Linked DNA regions of Homo sapiens: regions 2, 3, 4 and 5 are each linked to region 1. The links are contacts of gene promoters, found by promoter capture Hi-C in blood cells and fetal thymus (Javierre and others, 2016). All regions are on one chromosome and are shown on one strand. The core of a region is centred on a gene start or on the middle of the fragment in contact, and the rest is flanking DNA. Distances in the headings are between cores, read along the strand shown.

The links. Contacts are between HindIII fragments. The CHiCAGO score rates a contact against its expected background, and 5 or more counts as called.
Region 2: a contact is called between a fragment that was not itself captured here and the fragment with the promoter of LAMC1 in region 1, in 1 of 17 cell types (total B cells). The highest score is 5.3, in total B cells.
Region 3: the fragment with the promoter of ARPC5 here is called in contact with the fragment with the promoter of LAMC1 in region 1 in 5 of 17 cell types (total B cells, naive B cells, fetal thymus and 2 more); the score reaches 12.3 in total B cells.
Region 4: a fragment that was not itself captured here is called in contact with the fragment with the promoter of LAMC1 in region 1 in 1 of 17 cell types (naive B cells); the score reaches 5.9 in naive B cells.
Region 5: a contact is called between a fragment that was not itself captured here and the fragment with the promoter of LAMC1 in region 1, in 2 of 17 cell types (endothelial precursors and total B cells). The highest score is 7.1, in endothelial precursors.

Annotation. Positions count from the first base shown.
Region 1 is chr1:183,021,995-183,024,915 of GRCh38, forward strand. It overlaps LAMC1 (laminin subunit gamma 1), which reads left to right and starts at 1,426. Exons shown (of 28, transcript NM_002293.4): 1 at 1,426-2,140. The coding sequence starts at 1,723. RefSeq lists enhancers at 123-678, 679-1,233, 1,789-2,342 and silencers at 745-1,134, 1,165-1,554, 1,605-1,674, 1,695-1,834. The HindIII fragment of the contact is 7,676 bases long and covers 1-2,921 here.
Region 2 is chr1:183,913,387-183,916,307 of GRCh38, forward strand. All of the region lies in intron 15 of RGL1 (ral guanine nucleotide dissociation stimulator like 1), which reads left to right. Among named protein-coding and RNA genes, the nearest start is that of RGL1, 110 kb to the left of the region's middle. RefSeq lists an enhancer at 2,659-2,848. The HindIII fragment of the contact is 2,496 bases long and covers 223-2,718 here.
Region 3 is chr1:183,634,356-183,637,276 of GRCh38, forward strand. ARPC5 (actin related protein 2/3 complex subunit 5) reads right to left here and starts at 1,428. Exons shown (of 4, transcript NM_005717.4): 1 at 1,162-1,428. The coding sequence starts at 1,304. It also overlaps a transcript of RGL1 not described here. RefSeq lists enhancers at 624-1,124, 1,122-1,401 and silencers at 712-930, 882-941, 1,022-1,071, 1,552-1,711. The HindIII fragment of the contact is 3,712 bases long and covers 459-2,921 here.
Region 4 is chr1:183,595,375-183,598,295 of GRCh38, forward strand. It overlaps a transcript of NCF2 not described here. Among named protein-coding and RNA genes, the nearest start is that of NCF2, 6.4 kb to the left of the region's middle. The HindIII fragment of the contact is 2,564 bases long and covers 271-2,834 here.
Region 5 is chr1:183,547,640-183,550,560 of GRCh38, forward strand. SMG7 (SMG7 nonsense mediated mRNA decay factor) reads left to right here. Exons shown (of 23, transcript NM_001375584.1): 19 at 1,569-1,649; 20 at 2,125-2,284. Among named protein-coding and RNA genes, the nearest start is that of NCF2, 41 kb to the right of the region's middle. The HindIII fragment of the contact is 963 bases long and covers 1,065-2,027 here.

The DNA.
Region 1 (2,921 bases), core at 176-2,675:
TAAACGGAACAGTGATGAACATAACTTGCTAAGTAAGCTCAGCCGTGTAACAAGACCCTAGATTCCCCTCCCTTCTTCATCCTACCAGAACATTATCCTTAAGGTTTTCCTAATCAGCAGTCTGCGTCTAACTAACCCTAACTATCCAGAGTCACCTAACATATACTTATTTCCTTGTTTCAGATTCCCATTACGCCTATCTTAATGGGACAACTGGGTCCGAAATTATGCATGTGTTTTTTTGTTTTGTTTTTGCGGTGTACTTATTATCCGCACTTTATCATTAAATTCCTGAAAAGCTAGAACAAAACAAATCCGTGTCATTCACTATGTGCATCCTCTCTGCTTGGGGACGCCAAGGGTTTCAAGCTGCTGCCTCCCTGCCCTGGTCTCTGCTTGCCGTATCCAGCACTGGGTAAGCGCCCAGGTTCTGCTCCGGGACTAAAACTCATGATCTTCTGGCTCAGGTTCTGTGAACTGAGTCATTCTGGCACTGAGAATATTCCGTGACTCAGCAGGCCCGAAAAGGAGGATGTCAGAATCCACATAATTTCGAGTCTTTTAAAGGCAAGCCGAGGAACACAAACAACACAGTGGAAGAATTTCGCAGTGGGTCGTGCGTACCCAAGGGAAAAATTCATTCCATTCCCAGCCTTTTCACTTCCTTCCTTGCCCCGGTAAAACGACTGGTTACACTTTAAATCAGCGGCAGGAAATCGCTTCACGAAACTCATCTGGCTGCTGCGACCAGGCCCTTCTGATTCTCCAGGGACCGTGTCGGCCCCATGAACGCCCCGGGACCTCTGTTCGGGAGGGGCTGGAGCGGGGCCCCGGGCAGCAGCGGGCGCTCCCGGTTCGGACCCACACCTGGCCGGGCGGGGACCCTCTTGCCGCAGCCCAAATTGGCGCGAGGCCCCAGGGACGACCCCGAGCGACCTCCTGACCCGGCATCGCCCCTCTAAGGCGCCCTCCCCCGACTCCTCCCGCAATCCGGAGTCTCCCAGGCCGCGGAGCCCAAGGACCCCAGCGACTCCCGCGCGGGGAGCGGGTCTGCGAGGCCGCCCTTCCCTCCCGGCATGCACCACCCAGCCGCCCTCCCCTCCCCTCCTCTCCTCTCCCCTCCCCTCCTCTCCCCTCCTCTCCCCTCCCCTCCCCCAACCCCCTCCCCCGGCTCCCCGCCCACCTCGCGCGCCCCTCCCCCCGGGTCGCGCGCCGCGGGCCCGAGCGCGAGACGCCGCTGCTCCCGCCCCCGCCGCCTCCTGGAGTCGCCGGGGCGGACGCGCAGTCCATGGGGCGCGGTGGGCCGGGGAGTTGCCCCAGGGGCCGCGGGAGTTGCTGAGAGGAGACAGGGTTGGGCTTTCTCCTCGCCCAGACCCCACCCCACCCTGCCGACCCCACCCCCTGCTCCTTCCTCCCCGGGGGCGCGCACTCGGGCACGCGCTCGGAAGTCGGGGGTCGGCGCGGAGTGCAGGCTGCTCCCGGGGTAGGTGAGGGAAGCGCGGAGGCGGCGCGCGGGGGCAGTGGTCGGCGAGCAGCGCGGTCCTCGCTAGGGGCGCCCACCCGTCAGTCTCTCCGGCGCGAGCCGCCGCCACCGCCCGCGCCGGAGTCAGGCCCCTGGGCCCCCAGGCTCAAGCAGCGAAGCGGCCTCCGGGGGACGCCGCTAGGCGAGAGGAACGCGCCGGTGCCCTTGCCTTCGCCGTGACCCAGCGTGCGGGCGGCGGGATGAGAGGGAGCCATCGGGCCGCGCCGGCCCTGCGGCCCCGGGGGCGGCTCTGGCCCGTGCTGGCCGTGCTGGCGGCGGCCGCCGCGGCGGGCTGTGCCCAGGCAGCCATGGACGAGTGCACGGACGAGGGCGGGCGGCCGCAGCGCTGCATGCCCGAGTTCGTCAACGCCGCCTTCAACGTGACTGTGGTGGCCACCAACACGTGTGGGACTCCGCCCGAGGAATACTGTGTGCAGACCGGGGTGACCGGGGTCACCAAGTCCTGTCACCTGTGCGACGCCGGGCAGCCCCACCTGCAGCACGGGGCAGCCTTCCTGACCGACTACAACAACCAGGCCGACACCACCTGGTGGCAAAGCCAGACCATGCTGGCCGGGGTGCAGTACCCCAGCTCCATCAACCTCACGCTGCACCTGGGTAAGCGGTGACAGCCCCGTCCCCTGCTACTGCTCGCCAGCAGCCCAGCTCCCGGACCGGCTCCGTCCCAGTGGCCGGCCTCACGGGCGCAGACGGCCGCGTGTTTGCTCTCTGTTCCCCGGCATGGGCCACACAGAAACTCCTTTCTCCAACTTCTTAAATAGATACTGCTTTTAACATCCCGTGAGGGCCAGGATGTTCCGCACGAGTCTCTCTGCTTTCCTGTTCTTTCTGACTTAACGGGATTCTGGCTCTCTGATTATTCTGCATTTCGGCTGTTAGGATTGTGATTTCCCCCTTTTTTTTCTGAAGCGTTAATCAGAAACTCCCATCCCCACTTTTCTCTTTGCTAGCAAGGTCATCACAGCGCATTCTTGGATCGGAAACAAGAAGGTCCGCCTTAAACACTTTCGCCTTTAAAATGTTTAGATGTCCTTCCAGGGCTGAGGGTGATTGCTCTGTTGAGTTAAGGGGGAATTTGAGGGGAGCAAATGCCTTCGCTGCCTATATTGCCTATGTGTAATTAAAACATAAATTCACTTTTGAAGTTATTGTTCTTTATAGCTGCTCAGCCTTAATTAAGAACCACAAAGCGATTTGACTGCTAATCCTGGTGCAGAATGAACAAAAGGAAGTGCACTCACTGTAATTGCTGGGCATAGCCTTGTCCCTGGGTAAAAAGGCTCTCCTTTACTGTCTTCCCTTTTGCTTTCATTCAAAGCAACTGTAGAAACACGTGTAAGTGATGTTTCAGAAATCAGGAAAGGGATGTGTAGAAAAC
Region 2 (2,921 bases), core at 221-2,720, 890 kb after region 1:
AGTTTCACCATGTTGGCCAGGTTGGTCTCACACCCCTGACCTCAGGTGATCCACCCACTTCGGCCTCCCAAAGTGCTGGGATGAGCCACCGCACCCCACCAATATCAGTGTTAATCTTCTGTACACATCTGCTTCAATCTGTTGGTTGAAGGGTTTGGATCAGAAAGTCAACTATGACATAACTAGAATTTGCACCATTTGGGGAAGGTTTCTGGCTAACCAAGCTTACTCAATAGTGACTTCTGGCTCCTTAGCTTATGGTTAGGTCAGTAAGGTAGAATGTTGGCAATGGTTTCATCCCTTGGTTTATATCTGCTGCTCTTCAAGGGGACATGTGTGTTGCTTCACATGGTGTTAAAACAACAGTGGTAATCCTGGAACCCTCAAGTGACTTTGTCATAATGTAGCCAATCCAGGAAAAGCATCATATTCAGGATTCATCAAACTGAGATGACTAATTTGCTGCTCTAGTTGGATTTCTTAGCTTTCTGCTTTGAAATCCAGGGGATACAATCATTCATGCTCTAAATATTGAAAGAAAGCCTTCGTGGACACCTACGGACTGGCCATGCTCTCAAAAGGCATTTTTCCTCAACCCGGGATGTAGTCATTCTTCGTGACTTGACATACAAATTAGCTTTGTCAAAATCTGGAATGCAGTCTCATCATTCACTTTTTCACAGCCTCTGAGGTTTTATAGGCTCCATTTCTGATGGTAGACATTGTAGGAAAGTAATAACTGAGGTATTGCCCACATTATTGTGGGATTTCTCCCTGTCTCTCCAGGAAGGAGATGGAATCACAGTCACACCTTGTGGCATAGTGGAAATGTACATTGGTCCAAATGGTACCTTTTAAAACTATGCAGAAGCCCAGTGTGCTTTCTCCTGCACATCCCTTGCTTCATCTTTTTTGTCTCATCCCTCATCAGACTGGCTTTTTAAATTCTTGCAGAAGTCATGGCTCTTTATTCTTTGGATGAACCTTTCTCAGAGTCATACATTTCTTAAACATCAGTGATTCACTTGGATGCAAGTAGCTCCTGGACTGCACAATCCCTGCATATTAGCTAGAAAGGCTCGTGATTCTCCTGCTTGGCACATAGCTGGACTGAGCTGACCTCCACACTTCCTTCCTGACCTGAGAGCCTGTGACAGCCGCCTTCTCCAAAAGTCCTCCAGACTGTCATTCTTCCTTTTCCACAGGCTGCACTGTGAGGTTGCTCTTAAGGGTGAAGTGTAATTTATTTGCATTCCTTTCTTCATTCCCCGATCATGATTTCTAAATATTGATTTTTGCACTTGCTCCTCACTTCTTAAATTCTCAATAGGAATTTGGGGGCTCATCAGGCAGTCTGTTTAGAGCTGCTATAACCCAGGCATATTCTAGGCTTTATCTTAACTATAAATGTCACTAGAATCATAGAAAAATCTAACAAAGGAAATAGAGTTTGGATAGAGGAACATGAAGGCGAAAAAATTGAATGAATAATTGGAAAATGCACCCCCTTAACTAATATATCTGCAAAGAAACTTATGCTATTAACTTATCTATCATCAGTTAGTCCTCAAATTGAGCCACTAAGTTGATTCATTTGGGAACATAAGGAAGAAAAAAACCCAAAAACCAAAACAAAAACTAAACCATATTATGATAGAGCCACAATCAGACCCCTACCCATGAGAATTGTCACATCAGCTGGCTGGCTGTAAACTAACTGTGCAATAGAACTGAATGTATAATTATGCCACAGGAGGAAATCTACAGGAAATAAGATAATAGACTCCATTTTAATCAGAAGCCTGATAACCAGAAAGCTCAACTTCTATACTGTTTCCATGGAAAGGCAGATAAATATGAAAGAAATGTTATTTATTTTATAAATGACTTCCAGAATATTTTATAGGATTAACATGGTATAATTTAGCTTAAGTCATTCCGGGAAATTCTTTATAATTTTCTACAATAATAATGGGTATTTTAAATGGTTCAATTTAATGATTTTTAAAAGTACCTCTTCCAATAACTTCTTTCTTTGGTTATTGGTATTGCATGGATGAGAAATGTGTAGTTAATCAGAAAAGCATATTAACTGTAGTACTCCATTTCTTAATTGTCCTTGATACACATCATGAAAATGTATACAGTTGGCTCTACTAGCAAATGTGGAAAGTGGTGAAGCTGCTTAAAGGCTGTATTTCCCTTGAGCAAGTCACTTTTATATTCTGAATCTTATTCTCCTCGTCTTTATAATGCTCTGCATTTTGTTCACAAGACAGTTGTGGAATTAAAATGGGATAAGATAATATGAAAGTTCATGATAAGCCTCACAGTACTAAACATACCGAGGTAGCAGCATACTATGTTGATTCATCTTATTGTCATCAGCCACAGGCTGAGCCTTGGCCATGTGCTTGCTCTGGGAACTCGACAGTGGGAATCAGGGAGCTTGGGTTCCTGTTCTAGGGGTGCTGTCAACTAGCTGTGTGGACCTGGAGCCCCAGTTTTCTCCCTGGGTCTCAGGTTCCTCAGCAGAACAGGTATGGGACTAGTTGATGTCCAAGGCCTTTCTAGCACTAATATTCAATGCAGAGCCGTATAATCTGGGGTACTTCTCTTAGAAACTTCTAAAAATACAGAACTTTCTCTCTCACTACGAAATCTGACTGCAGTAGGACTGAATCAACTGCGTTGGCAAGGCTTTCCTCCAGCCCCGTAAGCTTCTGACTTCTTTGGGAACCCATATTGCCTCCAGTTTCTGGTGTCTGCTGCCACCTGCTGGTTAACTTCTATAAGAACAGCTAAAACCTAGGGAAATAGAACTGCTTTGCCTCACGTGCTTATAGAGTGATTAGGTCACACTGAGTCACCGATAGGCATCTACCACTGATGGGGACTCAGAGTACTTACACCAGGGATGA
Region 3 (2,921 bases), core at 178-2,677, 610 kb after region 1:
ATGTCTAATGCTCTATTTAGGTGCCTTTAAAAAAGGATATTGTTGCCATTAAATATTTTCACTCTCATATTTCCCCACTATAACAGGACATTGTTGAGAGTCTTCCTTATGAATACACCCAAGAATTAGAAATGCATACAAATTCAGTGTCTGAGATTTTCTAAAACTACAGCTTCGGTTTTTTTGCAACATTTACATTTTTCTAAAAAAGATGTAATGCAAATGCGAAGCCAAAGTTATGAATATTCAAATATGCAAAAACAGAAACCGGGAACTGACTGCCATATTTTAACTAAAATGGAAACAATTTTAGGATTACAAAAATGATTCTGCTTTATACGAATGACTCATCTTCTATCTTATTCATTGGGGTTTATTTTAAATATTTCCAAGGATTCTCCACACGCATTCCCCGTTGTTTTTTCTATTGTCCTTTTCTTAGCAGGTAAAAGGCTCCAAGCTTCCTTCTAGGAGTTTTGTATTTTTTGTATTCATTCCCCTCCCCCAGTTAACAAATTCTGTACAATGTATATTTTGCCAAATCCCCTTCTTCTTCTTCTTTTTTTTTTTTTTTTAAAAAGGCCAATGGGCTGAAAGCACAGGGACCCTCAATTTTCGAACAGTCCCATCTCCCCCCGCCCCCCGGTAAGGAATAAACTACCTTAACGCTACCAATAACAAAAACACAACAAAAAACAAAACCACTAAGGAAAGATGCAGGTTCCCCACAATCAGAAATTTCTGGAGCTAATGTGACCCCAGGAAATCAGAGTTCTAGGAAGAAAAACTAAGGCGCTCGGCACCAGCCTTCCCCACCAGCCGGGGCCGCCTTCCCCAGCGCCGCGAGGGCGCGGCCGGCGGGACCAGTTCCCGAGGCAGGCAGGCACTCGGGTGCAACCTGAGGAATCTGGGGGCGTGGAAGGCGCGCGGGGGAGGGCAGGCTTCCAAGAGTGGGACCCTCGCGTCTCCTGCCGACTGGGTAGGAAACGGGGGCTTCCCCCTTGCCCTCTCAGAGCGGGCGATCCCAAAGAGACAGGTTAAGCCGCAGGTTGAGAGGGCAGCTCCGCGCCGGTGCCCCGCGGATCCTGCAGGCTCCCGGGTCCCAGGAGAAGGGCGGGCTGGGCTGGGCTGGGGTGGGGAGGGCGGTGAATGCAAGGATATTGCCGCAGGCAGGAGTCCACCTCGCCCTCGTCGGGCCCGGCCTGGCCGTCGCCCCCATCTTCTTCGTCCACGAACTTGTTCTCGTCATATTCATCCACGTCCACCTTCCGGAAGCGGGCCGACGACACTGTGTTCTTCGACATCCCAATCCCGACCAGCGGCAAAGGCCTCTTCTTGGCGCTGCCTCTACCTCAGCAAGCCCAGCCCAGCAACCCACTACCCGGCGCCTGATTCACTTCCCTCTTCCGCTCTGAGGCGTCGCCGACTGCCGCGGCTCGGACCGTTCTGGGCCTGCGCGCTAGCCCCGTTTCTTCCTCCTCAGGTTCGCGCTCCCTTGGCGCCTCCCACGCTGCCCCTGCTCTTCCACGGAGAGCGCGCGCGAGGGAAGGAGCGCGCAGGACACAGCGCGCAGGCGCGGGCTCTCCGCAGGCAAGGGGCGGGGCTGGGCGAAGGAGGCGGGGGCGAGAGGGAGGGCCAAAAGCTGGACCGCGGGCAGAGGTAAGAAGCGATTGGTCGTCCGATTGCGTCACGTGATTCTCGGTGGGGGGGTTCCCATAGAAACGCTTTTCTGCGGTCCAGTCTAGGGGGTCTCAGATTGGCGGGGATGGGCAGCAGCGGCAGGTGGCCTTGGCTTTTGCTGCAGCCGTCAACGACCTATCATCGGGGTCCTGCGTAAGGTCCGGCTGGCTGGGACTTGGCTGTGGGTGGGATGGACTGGCTGCCGGACCGAGTGCCCTGCAGTTGGTAGGAGTATGAGGCAGAGTGATGCACACCCGGGCGCCCAGCATCGTTCTAATTGCCGGAGACATTGCCTCAGACTGTGCGCTGCTAGAGGCTGCGTTCCTGAGCAGGAAGCCCGTTTCCTGGGATTGGAACTACCCTTCTTGGCCAGCGGGAAGTCCCCAAGGACGGAGTCGAAAGGTCAAATCTTATCTGTCAGTGCTGTGTGACAGCATCGCAACGGGATCTGCAGAACCTGAACTCGGTATCAAATCTATTGGGAGGGAGGGGAACGTGTCCGGGCAGGCGCTGGGGTCGGGTGGCAAAACTGGGGTGAATTTGTAGAATTTGGGAAAGGGTCATTGACATCTTAAAATAGGTGGTCGTTTGGAGCAAGAATGCTCGAAAGGGGTGAGGGTAGGTTAGGCTCTCTAGTGCTGGGGGAAAACAAAATGTGGAAGGATTGGTGGAAACCAGACCTTTAAGATTTATATTATGATTTGAGATTTATATGATTCCATCTAGGCCAGATTTAAAAAAATATTTGACATCCCCATTTCTGGAATGTAGGAGATAAAGGCACTAAGACGAAGGAAATGGTAGTTGTGCTGTGTGTATTACACTGAAGAACAAATATTTGCAGGATAAAATTAATTTGGACATTTGGCTGGACACTGCTCGGTATGGGTCCAGTTTAGTTGGACCTCGAGCAGAAGACTGGCTGTTGCCCTGTTGTGTACCACAATCTTTGGTTTCCAGTGCTGTGTTGAAAAGAGCACTAGGCTTAGAATCAGAAAACTCAGGCTTAAGTGTTGACTCTTCCACTCATAATGTTTGAACGAGACATGTCACTTAAAATTCTGTCTCAGATTCCTCATCACTGAAATGGAGCTAATAATGTGCACTTTACAAGATTGTTCTTAGGATTATATATCACGAAAGTGTTTCCAAGCTCTAAAATTCTACATAAATGTAAAATGCATGTTGCTTGTACCATTGGTTTTGGGACTAGTCTTATAAATTTCTTAATGATATATGGT
Region 4 (2,921 bases), core at 303-2,802, 570 kb after region 1:
CTGTCTAATCTGTCGTTGGGTTGGTTTTCCGTTGCTGCATGACAAATTACCACAAACTTAATGGCTTAAAATAACACACATGTACTATGTCACAGTTTTCATGGGTCAGGAGTCTGGGCACGGCTTAGTTGGGCCCTGTGCTCAGGGTCTCACAAGGCTGAGATCGAGGTGTTATCTAGGCTGCTTTCTCATCTGGAGACTTGACGGCATCTGCTGCCAAGCTCCCTTGGTTTGTTGGTGGAATTCATCTGTAGCTATAGAATTCATGAAAGCTTCCTTCTTCAAGGCCAGCAATGGAGGCAGAGAGAATCTCTGCTTCATTAAGTCTCTTACCTCTAGACCTTCTCTTAAAGGAGTCACCTGATTAGGCCAGGCCCACCCAGAATATTCTCCCTTTTGATTAATTTAAAGCCAACTGCTTAGGGATGTTAATCATCTCTGCAAAAATCCCTTCACCTTTGCCATGTTCTATTGATTAAAAGCAAGTTACAGGTCTCTCCCACTCAAGGGGAGGGGATTACACAAAGGCAAGGATCATCAGGGATCATCTTAGAATTCCACCTGCCACACCTCAGCAGCTCCAGTCTTCTTCCCTGACTTACCAGTGAGATTAATTATTCCTGCCATGTGCACTCAAGGAGGTTTCTCTCTACCTCTCCTAATGTGTGTTCAAGCACATGTGATTGTAATTACTTGTTTAAACGACTGTCTCTCAACTAGACTGTAAGCCCCGAAAATACAAGATCTGTGTCTGATTTTTCCACTGTATCTTTTGTGCCCATGATATGGTGGATTTTTAACATATCTGTTAAATAGCGATGCCATGGAAGGTGCTTTTAAAGTCAGTGTGATTACTTAATTTGCTTGGCTAAATATATGTGTCCTAGCATCCTAGATGAAAATGAGGGAATGTATAATGCCTATTCATTTAAAGACACCTCATATTAAGCACTCTTTTTCATATTTGTACCCTTTACACACACAATGTCTAGTACCTGCATAGGTGGTCACTCAGTAAAAGTTTGATGAATAAATGAATGAATGCATAGAGATTAAAGATCTGAATCCTGAATGAAGCAAGTAAATACACTGGATCCTCACTATAAATTGTCCTTTGGGCCAGGCACAGTGGCTCACACCTATAATCCCAGCACTTTGAGAGGCCAAGGTGGGCGGATCACGAGGTGAGGAGTTGGAGACCAGCCTGACCAACATGGTGAAACCCTGTCTCTACTAAAAATAGTACTAAAAATAGTACTCAGGAGGCTGAGGTAGGAGACTCTCTTGGACCTGGCAGGCAGAAGTTGCAGTGAGCCGACATTGCATCACTGCACTCCAGCCTGGGCTACAGAGCGAGACTCCATCTTAAAAAAAAAAAAAAATTGCCCTTTGACATTTCTCTGCAGATCCAAATCCTGTCCATCTGTCCATCTGTAAAAGCTCAGCTTAGACTCACATCCTACGTAAAGTCTTCCCTGATGTAAGTTAGTCTCAGTAATTTTTTTCTCTGAATTCCTATAGCATTTTATGATCAAACCCCAAAACACAAGCACTCTATCACATTATCTGTTTTCTACCTTATCTATCCAGCTAGCTATAAATAGGTTCTTTGAGGGCAGGGAACAGGCTTTCTATTTCTTTACATTTTCCACAGAACTGGCACCTAACATCTTATATCAAAGTCTTAATAAATATGTGCTGATCTGAAAAGTAAAAAAGAAATATGGTTGATGTGGCATGATTCTAGTCCTGCATATCTTAGGAACTTTCCCTTTTTGGATGCAGTTGGCCTTTTCAGTCCTGCATTTTTCGTCTAGAGTACCCATTCACTAAATGCAATCTAGTCATAGAGCCAGGGATCTCTTTTACATGTGTTCAAAACTCCGTGGGTCTTTTTCTTTAGGAAGATTCCTGTCTCAGGATAGTTTTTGTGTGTGTTTCCCAAGCCAGTGAGTATCTAAGGGGAAATGATGCTCTAACAAGACAGTTACTGATGTTGAAGGAGTAGAAACTGATCACGTCATTGTACAAAAAAGCGGAGGGGGCACAGAAGAGTTAGAAATCTACCCCCTATTTAGCAGAACAGAATTTTTTAAAAAAATTTAGATTCAGGAGGTACATGTGTAGGTTTGTCACGTGGTATATTGCAGGATGCTGAGGTCTGGACTTCTATTGATCCTGTCACCCAAATAGTGAACATAGTACCCGATAGGTGGTTTTTCAACTCTTGCCCACCCGTCTCCTTTCCCACTTTTGGAGTCCCCAGTGTCTATTGTTCCCATCTTTGTGTTCATGTATACTCAATGTTTAGCTACCACTTATAAGTGAGAACATGCAAGATTAGATTTTCTGCAAAACAAAATTTTTAAAGATTCCCTTTTGCTTTCCCTGTAGTGTCCCTAACGACCGTGTCTGGACATACAATAACTATTTGCTGAATCACTGAATGAATGAACAAGTGAAGAGTGGACATCTGTTAGGGTATATGCCTGTCTCTTCTCTGGGACCTGCCTGTGTAATCCATAGAAGGATGGTAGGCCCTGTGGCCACATTTGTACTGCCTGAGTCCTGGCTGGTTGGACCCTGGTGGGCATCTGACAAGCTGGCCTCATTAGGTTATGTCTCCTGTGATTCAGGATTTAGGACTGAGAGGTGTATAAACCTAGGAGCTGCAGTTCTATCATGCTGTGCCCTGAGGCCCCGGAAAGCAGAGGAAGCCAGACTACTCAGAGAGAATGGAACAGATGCCCAGCGAGGAGCAGAGACAAGAGACACAGAAACTTTTCAGTCTCCGGTTCCAGCCTTTCCTGAGCCCCATCCAAATTCCTGCCCCAAGCTTAGACCCTTGCAATAAATTTCAGTGTTTGCTTAAGTTTGCTGTAATTAGTTTTGTTGTATGCCAAAAAATAGACTTGACTAAT
Region 5 (2,921 bases), core at 296-2,795, 530 kb after region 1:
AATATGAAAGGAAATATGTTCTTGATTTTTTTTTTGACTGACATTACTGAACAGTATATGGCTCTTTTTTGTTTGGTTAACTAAATGCAGAAAGAGCCCTGATCTAAATTCAAAGTTGGATTCATAAACAGAATGAGTAAAAATGAAGAGGATTCTATTTATAAACATTGTCAGAGTGTCATAAATGAGTAAATATGAAAATAACTAGAATCACATAAAATAAAATCTGAGAACTCAGCCTGCATTTCAAAGAACATCATTCTATATGCTTGTCAGTGTTCATATTATATTTTACTGTGGGTGGGGAGTATAAAAGATGGAAAGAAAGATGTATGCTATGAGGCTTTTTCCCCTCTCTTTATTACACCTTAATAAAACATAAAAAGATAGTAAATTTTACTTTCTTGCTGTTTCTTTCTCATAAACACAGGGCAAGAACACATTCGTAAAATTAAAGTACATTAATTTTAGTGTCAAGAGAAATAAAACCTTAACAGCTTTCATGACATTGCTGCCATCCCTGGCACTTGAAGTTCCCTTAAGAATTTGCCTGGGTAGTAGCAGTAGGGGCCCCATACCAAGTTATTAAATAATAGCAATAAAAGATCCCCCTGGAGACTTAAATGGTAGCAGTGCCATGGCTGAGCGCACAGGGATTGTGGAAGCTCAGCTGCTATACTGTTGCCTCTCTATGTTTGCCTTTCTTGTGGCTTTTATGCTAGAGTGGCTTTAAGGACTGAGGGTAGTGCTTCTCTGTCCACTTGTTTCCTAATCCCTTAGTTCCTGTTCCTGTTCCCTTAGTGTCCCTTTCATTGGAAATGGAGCTGATGGTAGAACAAGTGGGAGTATTTTCAGGGTTTTTTTTTCATGTTTAAAAGACAACAATGAATAAAAAAAACTTCGACTATAACCCTTCCAATATTTAACATTAATGATACAACGTATGTCAAAGTGCTTCTCTTGTCGTAGGTATTTAGTAATGTTTTATTAGCCAGCTATTCAGTGACAGCATTAGAGATTCAGCTTTGTTTCTCCTAATAACTTTGCTAGGGCCAATAAATGTAAGCTTGACTTTTAGCAACTGTTTTACTATATACTGCAAATAGAGCTGCTTAAAAAGCATATTAACAAAGCCATTTGTCAAATGGATTTGAAAGGCTTTTTAAAAGTCACCAATGTTAATGTTTTAAAAATTGTGGGGTGGAGAGAAACAGTGTTGGAACAGTTCAGCATTTTGTTTTGAGATTAAGTGCAACTATTGACAAGGGGATTCCTGAGGTCCATGCCTCATAAACACTCAGAGTGCTGTTTACCAGGGTCTCTGGTCCCTGCCAGAATATAATCTCTGACTAGGTTTGATCTAAAAGGAGGATTCTATGCACCTGTGGCAACTGGCACTTAGGCGGTGTCTTGGTGTTAACAGATTTGAATTCACATCTTCTGAGCCTCAAATTGTACTCAGTGGGCGAATACAGGCATGCTTTTGCTTTGGTTCCATAGTATGGTAAGATTAATATTAAGAAAATAGAAGGTATAACTTAATTACCTTTTTTTCTGGGACTGTGAAGAAATCCTTATTGGAGAAGCCCTCAGAGCTCATGTCACATTCATCCTCTTTCCTGTCCCTCACCGGATTCTCTCTCAATCAGGTAGGTGAACAATGAAGAATCCTGCTGTGTGCTTTTAGTGTAGACTGATCATTGTCTTTCTCATACTGTTTCAGTATGTCTGTTTTTTCTTTATTTTCCATGTATTAGTGTATTCCAGATATTTGATTTTATCCCCCTTGTCTCTGATTGGGGCATACTAGTGACTTGTACATCATGAATTAAAACCCTTTAACTTCTCATTAATATTGAAACCCTTAGGGCTCTCTTTTTGAGCCAAATAAATTATTCACATTTTCAACCTGGATAGTTTACACAGAGCAAATTTAAGGGTGAGAGAAAGCAAAGAGGAAAATTAATTTGACTGGAAAATTGAAACAAAAAGAAATAAAAGCCTTCAAAATTTCTCTTCCTAAGAAAAGCTTAAGGTGTACCAAGCATCCATGAACAAGACATTGGATTTTCTCAAATCTCTTTCCTTGGGGTGAGTTTATAACTTCACTGTCATGTCTTTCAGGAAAGATACCCAAATAATAGTATGTTCAATGAGGTATATGGGAAAAACCTGACATCCAGCTCCAAAGCAGAACTCAGTCCCTCAATGGCCCCCCAGGAAACATCTCTGTATTCCCTTTTTGAAGGGACTCCGTGGTCTCCATCACTTCCTGCCAGTTCAGGTATTAACTACTCTTTAAATTATAGACCTTACATTTCCTGTACACTCAGATTGATTAAGGGATAGTGAGATTCTGTAATTACAAATATATCATTTGTTGGGTTATTTTTATTTTTTGTTTGTTTGTTTTTGTAACTTCTGAAAGGAAATAGAAAAAAAAAAAGAAGAAGCCGGTTTATGTAATAAATGCTACTGACAAAACTTTTTACATCCTCAGTAGCCAGCAGAGATGTAAGGGAGAAAATAGAGGTTCTATCTTATGGTTCTCAGCTGCTTTTTAGTTTTATTTGTAGGTGTTCATTCTTTGCAGAAAAATTGCACTTTTTTTTTTGAGACAGTGTCTTGTGGTGTTGCCCACTCTAGACTCAAACTCCTGGGCTCAAGCAGTCCTTCCATCTCAGCCTCCCAAGTAGCTGGGACTACAGGTGCACACCACTGTGCCCAGCTCTGCACTTTTTAAAATTGAGATTTTTAACTTAGAGTCTGACTTAATAGTAATTCTTAAGGTTAGCAAATTCTTTCTGATACATAAGACCAATAAACATGTATCTGAAATAGCCGTGTGAGAATAGGGCATTCATTCAGTTGACAAAAATTGCCTACTATTTTATTTTGCTTTTTTAAGGCGAAGAATATGC